2 separate regions of the Homo sapiens genome follow, and region 2 is linked to region 1. The links are contacts of gene promoters, found by promoter capture Hi-C in blood cells and fetal thymus (Javierre and others, 2016). All regions are on one chromosome and are shown on one strand. The core of a region is centred on a gene start or on the middle of the fragment in contact, and the rest is flanking DNA. Distances in the headings are between cores, read along the strand shown. Region 1 holds the start of PRKRA (protein activator of interferon induced protein kinase EIF2AK2). Region 2 overlaps PDK1-AS1 (PDK1 and ITGA6 antisense RNA 1).

Region 1 (7,383 bases), core at 965-3,464:
ACTGCAACCCCCAGATAAATCCATTTTTAAAGAGGAAAATCAGGCACAAAATTAAGCATTGCTTGTTTTTAAATATAATTATACATCTTAAAAATACAAAGCATGGTTTCACCAAGTAGTTTACCACTGTATAATTCCCTGCCTCTGCTCATGTGCTCAGGTAATGAATTATAGATCAACGGTGTAAAATGATATGCTAAGAGCATGTTTAACTTGGAATGGCAGGCTATAGCACTAAAATATACACAGAAAACTAATAACGTAAAAATATGACCAATGTCTATGATAAGGATCACAGTAGATAGTGATTTGCCACTGGCAATGGGCCAATTTTAAGGGAAGCATATAGTGCTGTGGGAAGCAATGCAATTTAGGCACTAACGATAGTCCCGGATACAATCTACAGTGGACCTAGTCCAAAGGGAATTCCTTCACAAGTCCACCACCGGAATTTTGGCAACACCAAAGTGCTGTTTTGAATCCTCATGGCATACAGCTCATTGATTGAGCATTTCATTCATTTTCCATCTTATATGCTTACAAAACTGTGTTTAATATTAAATATAAATTCACAGATATAAACAATTATATGCAAATCTTTATTTAAAAAATAAAGCCACATTACATATAAGTAACTATATAAACTATTACCTAGTGGTTTCTTACTCTGAAGTTGGGCACACAGACTCTCTCTCTTTGAAATGGAGTCCTGCTGCATCTTTTTGTTTCATTATTATCCCAGCTACTTAACCTTTAACAAGAGCTATATAAAGTTCTGGCCTGTTTTTAAGTAATTTTGTGGCAAAAAATGAATTTTACCTGAGTGCTGAAATGTTTTGCCATAGGTGTTATGCGGAGTTCATATATTGTGAAATACTGACTATGTAGCCCTTCCAATAAGATATCCATTAAAACAGTGATGGATAGTAATCTATATACATACATATATAGACGGAGAGGAAGAGAGAATAGGCTCTAATTAAAGCATCAGATGATATAATTTGATTAGATTCTGAACATCTTTCACTTGTTTCAAGCATCCAGGGCTTACATGCTAACAAAACAACAAATCGCTTTTTTTTTTTTTTTTTTTTTTGAGAGGGAGTCTGACTCTGTCGCCCAGGCTGGAGTGCAGTGGCGCGATCTCGGCTCACTGCAACATTTGCCTCCCGGGTTCAAGCGATTCTCCTGCTTTAGCCTCCCGAGTAGCTGGGATTACAGGCGCATGCCACCACGCCCGGCTAATTTTTGTATTTTTAGTAGAGACAGGGTTTCACCATGTTGGCCAGGCTGGTCTCGAACTGCTTACTTCAGGCGATCCGCCAGCCTCGGCCTCCTAAAGTGCTGGGATTACAGGCGTGAGCCACCGCGCCCGCCCATAAATCACTTTTAATAATATCCTTTCGTACGAATAGCATTGTGCAAGCAATCTTCCATAACACCGAGTAAGCACAGGGGAGCATTTCTGCTAGTGCCTAGCAAGCCCCTGGAGAAGCGACACGTCATCTAATGGCCCACCAAAGGTGCTGCATCCCAGGCAAACGCCATTACAACCGACTACCCAGGTCCCCGGAAAGGCCTTCGTTTACTCCTAACGTGTTTTGCTGGGATGCACTGACCCAGCGTTCCATCTCGCGACGAAAGCCCAGAAGACAAAGGAGCCCGCCCGGCGGGAGAGGAGCGGGTGTTTGGACGTCCCCGCGTGTTCCTAAACACAGGGCTCGGGGACCCGAAGAGCGCACCGCAGCCCCCTGGAGCGTATATATCCGGGGTCTCAAGCTTCAGGACCAGGCCCGGGAGACTCCCTGGAATTCTGCCTTCGTAATTTTAGAATCTTTTTCTTAAAGTGACCCAGCCCCCAATCCGTCCTCCCCACAAAGGCTTAACTTTAGGCCTCAACGACCCTAGACCCACGCCGGACAATCCCTCTAATCCCTCTCTCCCGGCAAGAAACGGCCTCCTGCTAAGGACAAAGAACTGCGGCCTAGGGGCCAGTTACTACAGGCTGGTCAGGGCCGGCAGGGGCGGGCGCGGAGAACCCCCGGGAGCCCAATGCCTGTGCCCACGCGGGAGCGGGGCGGAGCCGGGCGGGAAGGGGGCGGACCCTGGAAGGGACAGGGGCGGAGTTGGGCCGGGACGGAGGCCCGCAGAGGAGCAGCGAGGGGGCGTAGCCGGAGCTACGGCACCAAGGCTCCGCCCCCACCCTGCCTGCCCCCTCGCTGGAGCAACGCAAGCAGGAGGCGGGGGAGTCGGAGGAGGTGGCGGCGCTGGAGCTCCTCCCGGGGACCAGCGACCCGGGGAGCGAGCACGTCGCTCCGCACCGCTCTTCCTCCAGCCGCTGAGCCGTCCCTTCTCGCCATGTCCCAGAGCAGGCACCGCGCCGAGGCCCCGCCGCTGGAGCGCGAGGACAGTGGGACCTTCAGGTCAGCGTGCGGGCAGTCAGGGCCCCAGGGCCGGGAGCGTTGGGCGGCAGGGCCGGGGCGCGGGGAGCCGGCCCTCCAGAGGCATTCTGGGTAAAGCCGTGCCCGGCGCCCACGCCTCCGCGGCTGTGGGTGCTCGGCCCCGCCCTCTCGGCGGCGAGGGTTGGGGTCTGCGGCCGGGCCCCGCCCCTCTCGTGGTCCCTGGCGGCGCGCGGGGCGGGCGGAGGTGACGCTCGGTCGGCGCGCCCGGGAAGGGATCGTCAGGTTTTCCCTGAGAGGCTGCGGCGCTGCTGCCAGCCCTGTTCTGTTGAGAATCTCTCCTACCCGCATTCAAGTGCTCTCTCTAAAGACCTCGCTCACCCCGCCTGCTCCTGCGGAGTGACTGCCGCAGCGGGGCCGGAAGACAGGTGCGCCCCAGCCTCGCCAGCTCTGGCCCTGGCCTCCGGGGAACTCGGCGCCTCCCTCGTCACCGTCGGTGGCGGTTAAAACTGGCCTCTACGCTTCTGCTTCAATCTCCAATTTGGCATGCAAAGCACACCTTTTTGTGGTTTTTGCAGTTTGGGGAAGATGATAACAGCTAAGCCAGGGAAAACACCGATTCAGGTATTACACGAATACGGCATGAAGACCAAGAACATCCCAGTTTATGAATGTGAAAGATCTGATGTGCAAATACACGTGCCCACTTTCACCTTCAGAGTAACCGTTGGTGACATAACCTGCACAGGTCTGTATACACAGTTAACCTGGATGACCGAGTGGGTTGGCAGTCAATACTTGGTGTTGCTTTTCAGTTCGGAAAAGTTCTCTTTTTGCCAGACAGCTGTGAGGAACAGGCTCTGAAACTGAGACCTCTCATCTCAGGTCGTTAGGGCTTTTCAGCTGCATCTGATTCTCTTCCTAATTTTCTCTTCCCCACATACCAAGGAAGCTTAGAAACTAAAAAGTTACCCAGCCGGATGGCTGGATCCTGCATGGCTCTTCTCATACCCTAGGATCCTCCTAGGGTTCTTCTTAGAATTAGAGGGAAGCAGGAAAGGTTCTTGGAGCAGTCATAGCTGGGTCAGTAGGTACTGTGAAGTTTCATAGATTATAGCGGATGCCAGGAGGCATGACCCCAGAATTTTCTGAGCGTCTCTCCTCTCTGTATGGACTCATTTGGCACTTTAGGTCCATTGTGCTACTTTTGATTCTGTATCCAAACAAAATGAGGAAGGGGAGAAGGTCCTCATATATTACATAATAACTTCTAGTTTTTGAAACTGAACAGATATTTTGTATATTATCCACTTTTTAAACAAGAAGAAACAGGTTCAGAGAGATTATAAGTAACATGCGTATAGCAATGAAGTCACAAAGCAATGAAATTTTAAAGTTCATGCTTTCTTTTGGTCTGTGAGCTTGAGCAAATGATAACTAAAGTTGCTCATTTGTAAATGTGGACATTATTTTTCTTATGTATCTATTTAATTGCAAACACAGAAAACATTGGATGCTAAATTTAATTTGGAAGAATGCCAAGAAAAAAATTTAGTAGGAAGGCTCAAGTTCTACCATCTGGAAAATCTGAAGACAGCATTTGTTTGTGTCCCTGGAAGTTTGGAGTCTTTTATTTTAATTGATGCCACTTTAAGAAAAGTTTAAAACTTTTTGTGTGAGGCAGTTAGATTGTAGGTGCTGGCCGGAAGGGTCCCCATGGGAACCATAGAGTCAACACTGCATTACTTACTTTAGCTAGTCTATTTCTAGATAGGAAGAATTCAAGAAAAGGGAGGGTTTTTCCCTCTCAATGTGTTTTAGACCCCAAATTAACAACCTATGGCAACCGTTCTGCCTACGCCCTCTTCTCACACTACCATGGCTTCCTGTGCAAGCTTATCTGCCTCCATGGCTTCTGATACTGTCTAAAGACTAATATTCTGAAATGTCTGTCTACATCCCAAGCCCAGTTACAGAATAGTGTATCAGTCTGTGCTTGCTGAGCATCTTTGCCTGGATGACACAGAGGCCCCTCAAGCCTCTCATTGTCCCAAACTGAATCCATCTTTTCCCTCAAACCCATTCTTCTTGCATTCCCTTTCTATGTAAAGGCTCCACAATCACCTAGTTCAGTAGAAATGTAGGCTTTTGTCTTCCTAACTACTTCCCGTCTTTCTCCCTCTTGTCCAGTCTGTTATTAAACTCTATCCATTGGCGTTTAATAATCCACTAACTATCCATTGAATCTGTCGGCTTCTCTCTTCTGGCCATTGCTACTGCCTAGGCCACCATCATCTCTCACTTGGATTGTAGCTGCAGTCTTGTAGCTACACGTTTACCTTCTAGTCTTGTGATGTCCTTTTGTCACATTACAACCAGTGTTCATTCTTTTTTTTTTGAGACAGGGTCTCACTCTGTCACCCAGGCTAGAGTGCAGTGGCATGATCTTGGCTCACTGCAACCTCCGCTACAGCCTGCACTTAGGCTTGTTGTAACATATCCCATTCCATACTTCAGGTGCCTATTAACAGACAAAAATCCCACACTACTCTGTTGGCTCTTGAGGGCAGGGACCCTGTATGCTATATCCCTAATACCTGTGTTAGCAGATAAATATATGGTTTCTGTGTCTTCTTACACTTGAGGGCCACACTTGAAGGCCACACTTGAAACTTATTCCATGAGGGTATGGGAGTTTGAACTTAAAAGGAAAAAGATGGAATTTATCATTTGCCATTGTGATTGCTTACTGAAATTAGACATCAGTCTTATCCCCAGTCCCAACTTAGCTACCCATGCAGAAGATACAGACCGTCCAGAAGATACATAACAAGCTGTCACCTTATTCCATAAAACTCTTTCCTGTTGTACCCAACACATAATCATGACTGCTCAGCCTAGCAAAGCAGTTTGATACGTTATAGGACAGGCTGTCAGAATAAAATTATGCACATTTTGCTATCAAACAATTCTGCTGTAAATGGTTCCTTTAAAAGAAACTTCTTGCTGCAGAAGAATTTCCCCTCCAGGAATAAAGGAAGAGTAAAATACTAATCTGCATTTCTTCAGAGGTGTGACACGGTCTACTTTATTACCATGTTATATAATAAACATATATAATGTAGAAATAAGGATTTTTATGCAGGTATGCATAGAATTATATAGAACTTTAAAAAGTTATTTTTTAAAATTTTTTCACATGGTGAATATTTTATTACAGTATATAACCATGTAGTATATAACATGTACATATTTTTATGTACAGTATATAACGTACATATTTTTATTACCTAGTATGTGTATGTAAAATCTATAGTGACTTTGTTTTGTGTATTGAAAACATCTTTGTAAGCTGCACATTTTTGTGGGAGATAAAGACTTCTTTTTTTAAATCTTAATTCAGGTGAAGGTACAAGTAAGAAGCTGGCGAAACATAGAGCTGCAGAGGCTGCCATAAACATTTTGAAAGCCAATGCAAGTATTTGGTGAGCTAAATTTCTTTGTATTCAGCAGCTCAAAAATATCATGGCTGAGGTAAGATTAAAAATTTGAACATGCTTACAAAAGCAACAAAGTGAACAGTTGTTAGCATCCTACCTCTCAAATTCTATTTCCTTATGAAAACTTATCATCCATTAAAGAAAACTTTATCCAATCAAATCCAGCAATTAGCTATTAAATGAAGGTGCTCATGAACTAGGCTTTACTGTTTTTTTTTTTTTAATGGGATACAACAGTAGAAAATCAGTGCTTCTTGCAAATATTAATATTAACATTTTGTATTTAGACTTTGATTATTTCTACATTGAAGAAAACAAAGTGTGAGATGGAGAAAGATCCACTAAAAGTACTCTTTTGGGAATTCTAATTTTGAAGAAGCAGGCAGAGGTTTTCTTTTATTATATAATGTATACCAAAAGAAGAGAATGTTAAGTGGGATATTAATTCTTGACATATCTTTCTAAAGTAAGATTTTTTTTTTTTTTTTTTTTTTTTTGAGACGGAGTCTCGCTCTGTCGCCCAGTCTGGAGTGCAGTGGCGGGATCTCGGCTCACTGCAAGCTCCGCCTCCCGGGTTCACGCCATTCTCCTGCCTCAGCCTCCCAAGTAGCTGGGACTACAGGCGCCCGCCACTACGCCCAGCTAATTTTTTGTATTTTTAGTAGAGACGGGGTTTCACCGTTTTAGCCGGGATGGTCTCGATCTCCTGACCTCGTGATCCGCCAGCCTCGGCCTCCCAAAGTGCTGGGATAGATTTTTTACTACTTTAGGTGTTTCTAGATAGAATATTGGTCCTGGAGCATCTCACATATTAAAGTAGTGTCCACTGGGTGCACTCTGGAGCTTGGCATGCTTTCAAGTTCTTCTTGTGCATACACTTACATATGCCTGAAGTACGATCTGTGTAATCAGCTTATAGTTGACAGTAGAGACCCAGGGAATTTGGGATGGGTTTTTTGTTCCCTAGTCATAGAAAGGCTTTTGGATTAGGGGTGTAGTTAGGTTCTCATGTAGTATTCCTCTCTTTTTGTAAATCATTCTAAACCGTTTGGGTAGTTTAGAACTAACCAGTGACATGGCAACCCTCTAGATAAGCAGCTGCCCAAGACAAGCCTTGCATTTCACAAGATGATGCTTGATTCTCTAGGGTCATGCATTATAATTGATCTATGCCAGGCTGGGCGGGGTGGCTCACGCCTGTAATCCCAGCACTTTGGGAGGCTGAGGTGGGTGGATCACTTGAGGCCAGGAGTTCAAGACCAGCCTGGCCAACATGGCAAAACCCTGTCTCTACTAAAAATACAAAAATTAGCCAGGCATGGTGGCAGGCGCCTGTAATCCCAGCTACTTGGGTGGCTGAGGCACAAAAATCGCTTGAACCCGGGAGGCGGAGATTGCAGTAAGCTAAGATTGTGCCCCTGCACTCCAGCCTGTGAAACCCTGCCTCAAAGAAAAACAAGGCCAGGCATGGTGGCTCACACCTG
Region 2 (7,383 bases), core at 2,730-5,229, 5.9 Mb after region 1:
GGAGCGCGCGCCAGGCCGCAGCCGCCGCCCAGATCCCGCCCCAGCCGGCGAGGTGTGGGGTGAGCGTGTCGGCCGTCCCCGTACACGTCGGGTGATGGGACTGGGGACACTAAGAGGCGAGGCGGTATGGAGCGTCCCCTTCCCGCACCCTTTTGAAACAAATCCCACCTTCCTGCTTCCTCTGCCCTCCCAATCTCAGCCAAAAGGCTCAAGGACAGGGCGGCGTTCCGCTTGCACACACCGCGGTGTCGTGCTGCGAGCGCGTTCCAGAAACGCTCCTCTGTGACGCAAGCCACGCATTTTCCAGGGTCAGAGAGCTTCAGGAGTCCCCGCTTGCCAAACAGTAGTACGTAAATACGAAAGCTGAACACTGGGACGTGTGGCCCTAAATAGTATCACCGCGACGGCGGCCCCGGGAGAAGAGATGTACTGCCATGTACTGGCTCTGTGCCTTTGAGTGAGCTGTTTAACCTCTCTGAGCCTCCGTCTCTTTACCTGAAAAAGGAGCATATTATCTGTTTCAGTTGCTGTGACATGGGTAGTAGAGCTATCTGTGTTAGCACAATGCCGGGGACATACCAGATAATAAATGGGATTTATTTTTACCATTATTGCTTTTTAAAATTATTTCATTATTAAGATTTTATCAGAACCACCAATCTGCGTTTTCCCTGAAGCACATTTTACCAAAAGTTTGAGAGAAAACGGTTTTTGGCGGTTTTATAACTATTTGATGTATTCGAGTATCAGCAGTTCTCCCACACTGACTGTTGGTTTTAGAAAGTGTAACGGGTACATAGTTTTGTGAACTCCGAAAGTTTGAGACAAGTCTCAGTTAATGTATAAAGTTTATCTTGACAAGGTTGAGGACGCGTGCCCGTGACACAGCCTCAGGAAGTCCTGAGAACACGTGCCCAAGGGGTGAACAGCTTGGTTTTATACAGGGAGACAGGAGACCTCAATCTATATGCAAGAAGTACATTGGTTCCTGCCGGAAAGGTGGGACAACTTGAAGCAGGGAGGAAGGCTTCCAGGTTATAAGTAGGTGAGAGACAAATGGTTGCAGTCTTTGGAGTTTCTGATAAGCCTTTCCCAAGGAAGCAATCAGATATGCATCTGTCTCAGCAGAGGGATGACTTTGAATAGAATGGGAGGCAGGTTTGCCTTGAGCAGTTCCCAGCTTGAATTTTCCCTTTAGCTCAGTGATTTTGTGGCCCGTGATATTTTCCTTTCACATATCAGTGAATCTTCATTCGCATTATGTTTTTCTGGACAACCACATGTGGATACCGTATGGGACATTATTCTTTTGGCCAGACAGCTTTGTCAAACCTGGTATCAGTATGCGCATCTGGAGTGCCCATCTCTTTCTTGGCAAATTTCCAGATATCTTTGCTGAGTGCCCGAGGGGCACACTTCCTGAAGTCCGTTTCAATGGGATGTGCTTGGGAATGTTGATGGTGTCACCACCTCATTGATGGCTGAATGGCCCCCTTCTTCTTCCCACCCTTCTTCTGCGGGACCTAAGTTGGAAAGAAGAAAACAATTTTAAGTTGAATATTACACATTCTTAAAATAGTCCCTCAAACATTTCCACAGCTCTACCCCAGCCTCTCAGGTTGCCTCCTCCTTTCTAATCTCCTTCCTTCTAGATTATTCCCTGAGCTCCAAAGTCTTGTCACTTTATCATGCACAGCATTATTCAGCTCCCTCAATCCCTGTTTGCAATTTTGCTGCTTTCTGCCTGAGCATGTCAAGATGCTCAGCTGAACATTAATTTGCGTGAAAGTACAAAGGCCCAGCAGAAACCTTGAGACTATTTTAGCAAGATTTTTTTCCCTCAGGAAGGAATCAACTGTTGTATAAAGTGCTTTTTCCTTTCTCCAAAGTATATTCACCATGCTTCAACCAATATACAGAGAATGTGCATATAAAAGTACATATTAAATGGTGTCAACTTTTGCTTCTTAGTCAAAGACTTAGAGTCCAGAAACTGGAGAGAACCTTTGAGGACTTTAGTAAACAGCTGTATTACTTCTCTGTTGTTATGGTCTGAATGTGTCCCCTAAAATTTCTATGTTGAAACTTAATTATCAATGTGATAGTATTAAGAGGTGGAGCCTTTAGGAGAGAATTAAGTCATGAGGGCAGAGCCTTATAAAAGGGCGTGAGGGGGTGAGTCAGTTCCTACCATCTCTTCTACCATGTGAGTGAAACTGCCTTTGAAAAATTATAACAGTGAGAAAATTTTGACAGTGAAAGAGATCTGACCTAACCAACTCCATCTTGCTTCTCACTTCCAAGCTGCCCTTGTTTATTCCTGGGCATAGGCCAAACTAACTTTGGGAGGAATTTAGATTACAAACTTTGAAACAAAGATGATAAGAGCTCTTCCATGAAACAAATCCCCAGCTTTCCTGGGGACCAGACCACCTTTGTTAAACTAACAGATTAGGCAGGGCACAATGGCTCATGCCTGTAATCCCAGCACTTTGGGAGGCCAAAATGGGAGGATTGTGTAAGTCCAGGAGTTCGAGACCAGCCTGGGCAACATAGACCTTGTCTCTACAAAAAATGAACAAAATTAGCTGGGCATGGTGGCACTTGCCTGTAGTGCTTCGTGGGGAGCATCACTTGAGCCCAGGAGGTGTAGTTTGCAGTGAGCCAAGATCCTGCCACTGCATTTCTGCCTGTGTGACAGAGCGAGACCTTGTCTCAAAAAATAAGTAAACTAACAAATTAACTAGAAGATTAGAAATTATAGCTCAGGAGTCATGCAGCCAGAGTCCACAAGATCACCAACCTCCACAATTGCTCCTATAGATAACATTGCTATTATAAAACCTAACATTGGTGTTTGAGTTATTTTTCAAATCCTGAATTCCAGTGGACCAGCTGGAACCACACAGATAAGTAAAATGACTCATCTGGTCTTGTGGCCCCCTCCAGAAACTGACTCAGCATAAGATGACAGCTTCGACTCCCTATAATTTTATTCCTGACCCAACCAATCAGCATTCCCCATTCTATAGCCTGCTGTCTGCCAAACTATAAAAAAACCCTAGCCTCTGAATTTTCAGGAGGTTAATTTGAGTAGTAATAAAACTCATCTTCTGTTTAGCCAGCTCCACATGCACTAAACTCTTTGTCTTGATAAATTGGCTCTATCTGGTCAGCAGGCAAGAAAAACCTATTGGATGGTTACATGAGGACACAGCAAGAAAGCCCTTATGAGACACTGAGTTCCGGCATCTTGATCTTGAACTTCACAGCCTCTAGAACTGTAAGAAAACTAATTTCTGTCATTTATAAATTATCCAGACTGTATTTTGTTACAGCACCACTAACAGACTAAGACACACATGTAGATATAAAGTGTAATCATACTGTAAGCTTCTATAAAAAAATTTTTACATAGCAGACATGAGCCAGCCCCTGTAAATTCACTGAGAATTTGTGATCCATGTTGGACTGATGTGACTGAAAGGAATGGAAAAAGCAATACAAAACAAGCTAGACTGTGTCACCTTGTCCCCAGTACCCTCTGGCTTCATGAGGTTCAGAAGACAAAAGGAAAGAAAAGTCATATTTTTTCCCCCTGCTTCTTTTCTTCCAAGCTATAATTTGTGTTCCTCTAAGTGTGGCCATAGCTTCCTACCCTTGTCCAGTATCCATAGAGATAGTACTAATTTTTCTCTGTTGCTGATTGGGTGCTCACCAGCCCTGGAGGTTTAATTCTGCCCACACTCCTGTAAATAGTCCCTTCATTAATTAATTAATCAATTTCCCTTTTGAGTGTGCTATCATTTCCTGCCCTAGAACCCTTTTTGATATGCTGGAAAGATAATTTTCAAAAAAGGTAAAATAATGACTCTCATGCAGCTATAAAATGAACATGTGTCAAAAATTTTATTTAATACATTAATTAAATGAGGGAACCAGTAAAGATATTATAGCCAGTTCAAAGGAGAAGTGAAAAAACAGGAATTCAGAAAAATTTGCAAAGGCTGTAAAACTGGCTCTTTCCTTGGGAATCAGGGAGGGTTGCCCTTCTACCTGACAGAATTTATTTGCACATGTATAGGTAAGAATTATGTGCGTTGTTACCATTTATCTGCAATTTACAGAGTTGTAAAATAGCTCAAAGACAGTGAATTGGAATCAGATACCCTGAAAAGTTGTGCTCTAAACAATACGTAATATTCCACTGAAGCATAATTTTTCTCCATATACATTTGCCTTCTTTCTTTAAAGGGTACTTTGATTCAGGTAATTACTTGTGTAGTGATATGAGGGCATCCTATTCACCAGGATTTATTTAGCACAAACATAGTTTTTATCTGGAGTAAGTGCTTTGAAATGCTGATGGAGTGGAAGGAGAGATCTGTAGGGAAGGCTCAGAACAGCTTTACAGGAAGCAAGGAGAGGAATTCACTTTGTAGAGCAAAGGGGAAGGGGAGGAGGCAGAAGATTGCAAAGACTGTTCACAATGTGAGCACTCCTTATAACCCAAACCTTCAGTAAAGTTTGCAAAAAAAGAGAGATTATTGGATACTGAAGCTTTTATGTGTTGTGCTTTTGTGAAAATTGGAGGAAAGGATGAATTTTTTTTATGAGAGTTTGTGGCAATGGAGATAGACTTTGCACACAAAGAGTCTGAGTGGTGGTGGGGTGGGGGGTACTATAAATGAGACTATGAGCCTCAAGAATTTACAGACATGGACAGGGAGAACTCTAGACTTTCACAAACTGAGACTGGTAATGTTAAAAGATAAATTTGGGCACATTAAAAGTTTTAAAAATTTATTTGAACTGTTGATTTAAAAAAAAGACTCAAACTCTGTAAAATATTTTAAGAGATTTATTCCGAGCCAAATGTGAGTGACCAAGGCCTGAGGCACAGTCCCAAGAGGTCCTGAAAACATGTGCCCAAGGTGGTCGGGTCATAGCTTGATTGTGTACAGTTTTAGGGGAACAGAAGTTGCAGGCAGACATCACTCAGTACATGTAAAGCGTACACTGCTTTGGTCTGAAAAGGCAGGACAACTTTAAGACGTAATATAGGGGGATTGGGAAACTTGTGGCAGGAGGGGGCTTCCAGGTTATAGGGAGAGTCAAAGATTTTCTGACTGGCAATTGGTTGAAAGAGTTAAGTTACTATCTCAAGACCTAGGATCAATTGAAAGGAGTGTCTGGATTAAGACAAGGGGTTGTGGAGACCAAGATTCTTATTACACAGATAAAGGTCCCACATAGCAGGCTTCAGAGAGAACAGATAGTAAATGTCTCTTATCAGACCTAAAAAGGTGTCAGACCTTAAAAGGAAAAACCTGGAAAGGGAAGGGGATCCTCTACAGAATATAGATTTTCCCCAGAAGAAATAGCTTTGCAGGGCTAGTTCAAAATATGTCAAAAAAATATGTTTTGTAGTAAAACACTTCAGTTTATTTCAGGACCTGCTATCTGTCATGTGTTGCTACTGAGGAGTAAATTCTGATTTTTTTATCTTGCCCAAATTCCTATCTAAGAGTTCTGGGGAGTCATGCCCTACAAACCATAAATTCTCATCAGATGGGTTTTATTTAACCCTATATATCGAGACTTACTTTTCACCCTGACTCTGGAATAACATTACATGACAAGGAAGAAAAGCAAAATATTTTATCCCAAAACATGTTTTTTTGCCATATCTTGAAATGGCCCTGCAAATCTGTCTTTTGTGGGGGAAAATTTGCATCAGTAAAGAATCTCTATTAACATAGCTAGATCTTTTACTTCCAGGCCCTCCCAATCCTAAAAAGATTAACTTAAAGTCTAGCACCTTTTAAAGATCTGAATAGGAAACGTTTGTCATCTGTTGTCTCTGAGGGCAGCCACAATAAAACTTCAAAAGAACCTTGGTCTCCACAATCCTTTATCTTAACCTGAACATTTCCTTTCTGTGATCTCAGGTCTTTAGATAAACTCAACCAATTGTAAATCAGAAAATGTTTAAATTTACCTATAGCCTGGAAGCCCCAACTTTGAATTGTCCTACCTTTCAGGACTAAACCAATGTATTTCTTAAATGTATTTGATTGATGTCTCATGCCTCCCTAAAATGTATAAAACCAAACTGTGCCCCAATCACCTTGGGCACATGTTCTGAGGACCTCCTGAGAGCTGTGTCACGGGGCCATGGTCACTCATATTTGGCTCGGAATAAATCTCTTCAAATATTTTACAGAGTTTGGGAGTCCTCGGCCTCCCAAAGTTCTGGGATTACAGACGTGAGCCACTGTGCCCAACCTTGTAACTGTTTCTTATCAGACTTTAAAAAGGTGCCAGAGTTAGTTAATTCCCTTCTGAATCAGGGAAAGTACTTGGAAAGGGAAGAGGATTCTCTGTAGAATGTAGATTTTCCCCACAAGAGACAGCTTTGCAGGGCCATTTCAAAATATGTCAAGAAATATATTTTGGGATAAAATCTTTAGTTTCTTGCAGAACCTGCTCCTTGTCATGTTGGTATCTTAGGCTACAAACAGTCTGTTTTGTCAGATGTAAAATCTCTATGTTAATGTTAATGCTGGTCAGCTGTACCTAAATTCCAGAAGGGAGGACAGAATAATGAGACATGTCTGACCCCGCCTTCCCATCATGGCCTGAACTAGTTTCTCAGGTTAACTTTGGAATGCTCTTGGCCAAAAGGAGGGGTCCATTCAGTTGGTTGGAGGGTTTAGAATATATATATTTTTTGAGACAGAGTCTCACTCTGTTGCCCAGGCTGACGTGTAGTGGCATGATCTCAGCTCACTGCAACCTCCGCCTCTTGGGTTGAAGTGATTCTCCAACCTCAGCCTCCCGAGTAGCTGTGATTACAAGTATGTGCCACCACACCTGGCTAATTTTTGTAATTTTAGTAGAGATGGGGTTTCACCCTGTTGGTCAGGCTGGTCTTGAACTACTGACCTCAGATGATTTGCCCACCTCGCCTCCCAAAGTGGTGGGATTACAGGCCTGAGCCACTGCCCCAGCCGAATTTTATTTTTGGTTTACAAGGGAGAAGCTCATTGGGTAAACCAACTAAGGAGGGGCAGAATAACCAAATACTTATTTTATTTTGTTAATCCTTTCAGAGGTGCAATGGTTTTCACTCACATCTGTGTGAAGAGACCACCAAACAGGCTTTGTGTGAGCAATAAAGCTTTTAATCACCTGGGTGCAGGCGGGCTAAGTCCGAAAGGAGAGTCAGCAAAGGGATATAAGGATGGGGCCATTTTATAAGATTTGGGTAGGTAAAGTAAAATTATAGTCAAAGGGGGGTTGTTCTCTGATTGGCAGGAGTGGGGTTCACAGGGTACTCATTGGGGGAGCTTTTGAGCCAGGATGAGCCAGGAGAAGGAA

What was found. The method cuts DNA at HindIII sites, captures the fragments that hold promoters and counts their contacts. A CHiCAGO score of 5 or more calls a contact.
Region 2: a fragment that was not itself captured here is called in contact with the fragment with the promoter of PRKRA in region 1 in 1 of 17 cell types (neutrophils); the score reaches 6.1 in neutrophils.

What each region holds. Positions count from the first base shown.
Region 1 is chr2:178,446,006-178,453,388 of GRCh38, reverse strand. It overlaps PRKRA (protein activator of interferon induced protein kinase EIF2AK2), which reads left to right and starts at 2,214. Exons shown (of 8, transcript NM_003690.5): 1 at 2,214-2,423; 2 at 2,978-3,147; 3 at 5,803-5,884. The coding sequence starts at 2,359. PJVK (pejvakin) reads right to left here and starts at 2,011. Exons shown (of 7, transcript NM_001042702.5): 1 at 1,620-2,011; 2 at 1. RefSeq lists a silencer at 1,942-2,721 and an enhancer at 2,484-3,058. The HindIII fragment of the contact is 1,572 bases long and covers 1,782-3,353 here.
Region 2 is chr2:172,548,505-172,555,887 of GRCh38, reverse strand. All of the region lies in intron 1 of PDK1-AS1 (PDK1 and ITGA6 antisense RNA 1), which reads left to right. It also overlaps a transcript of PDK1 not described here. Among named protein-coding and RNA genes, the nearest start is that of PDK1, 3.9 kb to the left of the region's middle. RefSeq lists silencers at 1-126, 2,773-3,067 and enhancers at 307-456, 2,773-3,067, 5,573-6,314, 6,315-7,057. The HindIII fragment of the contact is 1,167 bases long and covers 3,396-4,562 here.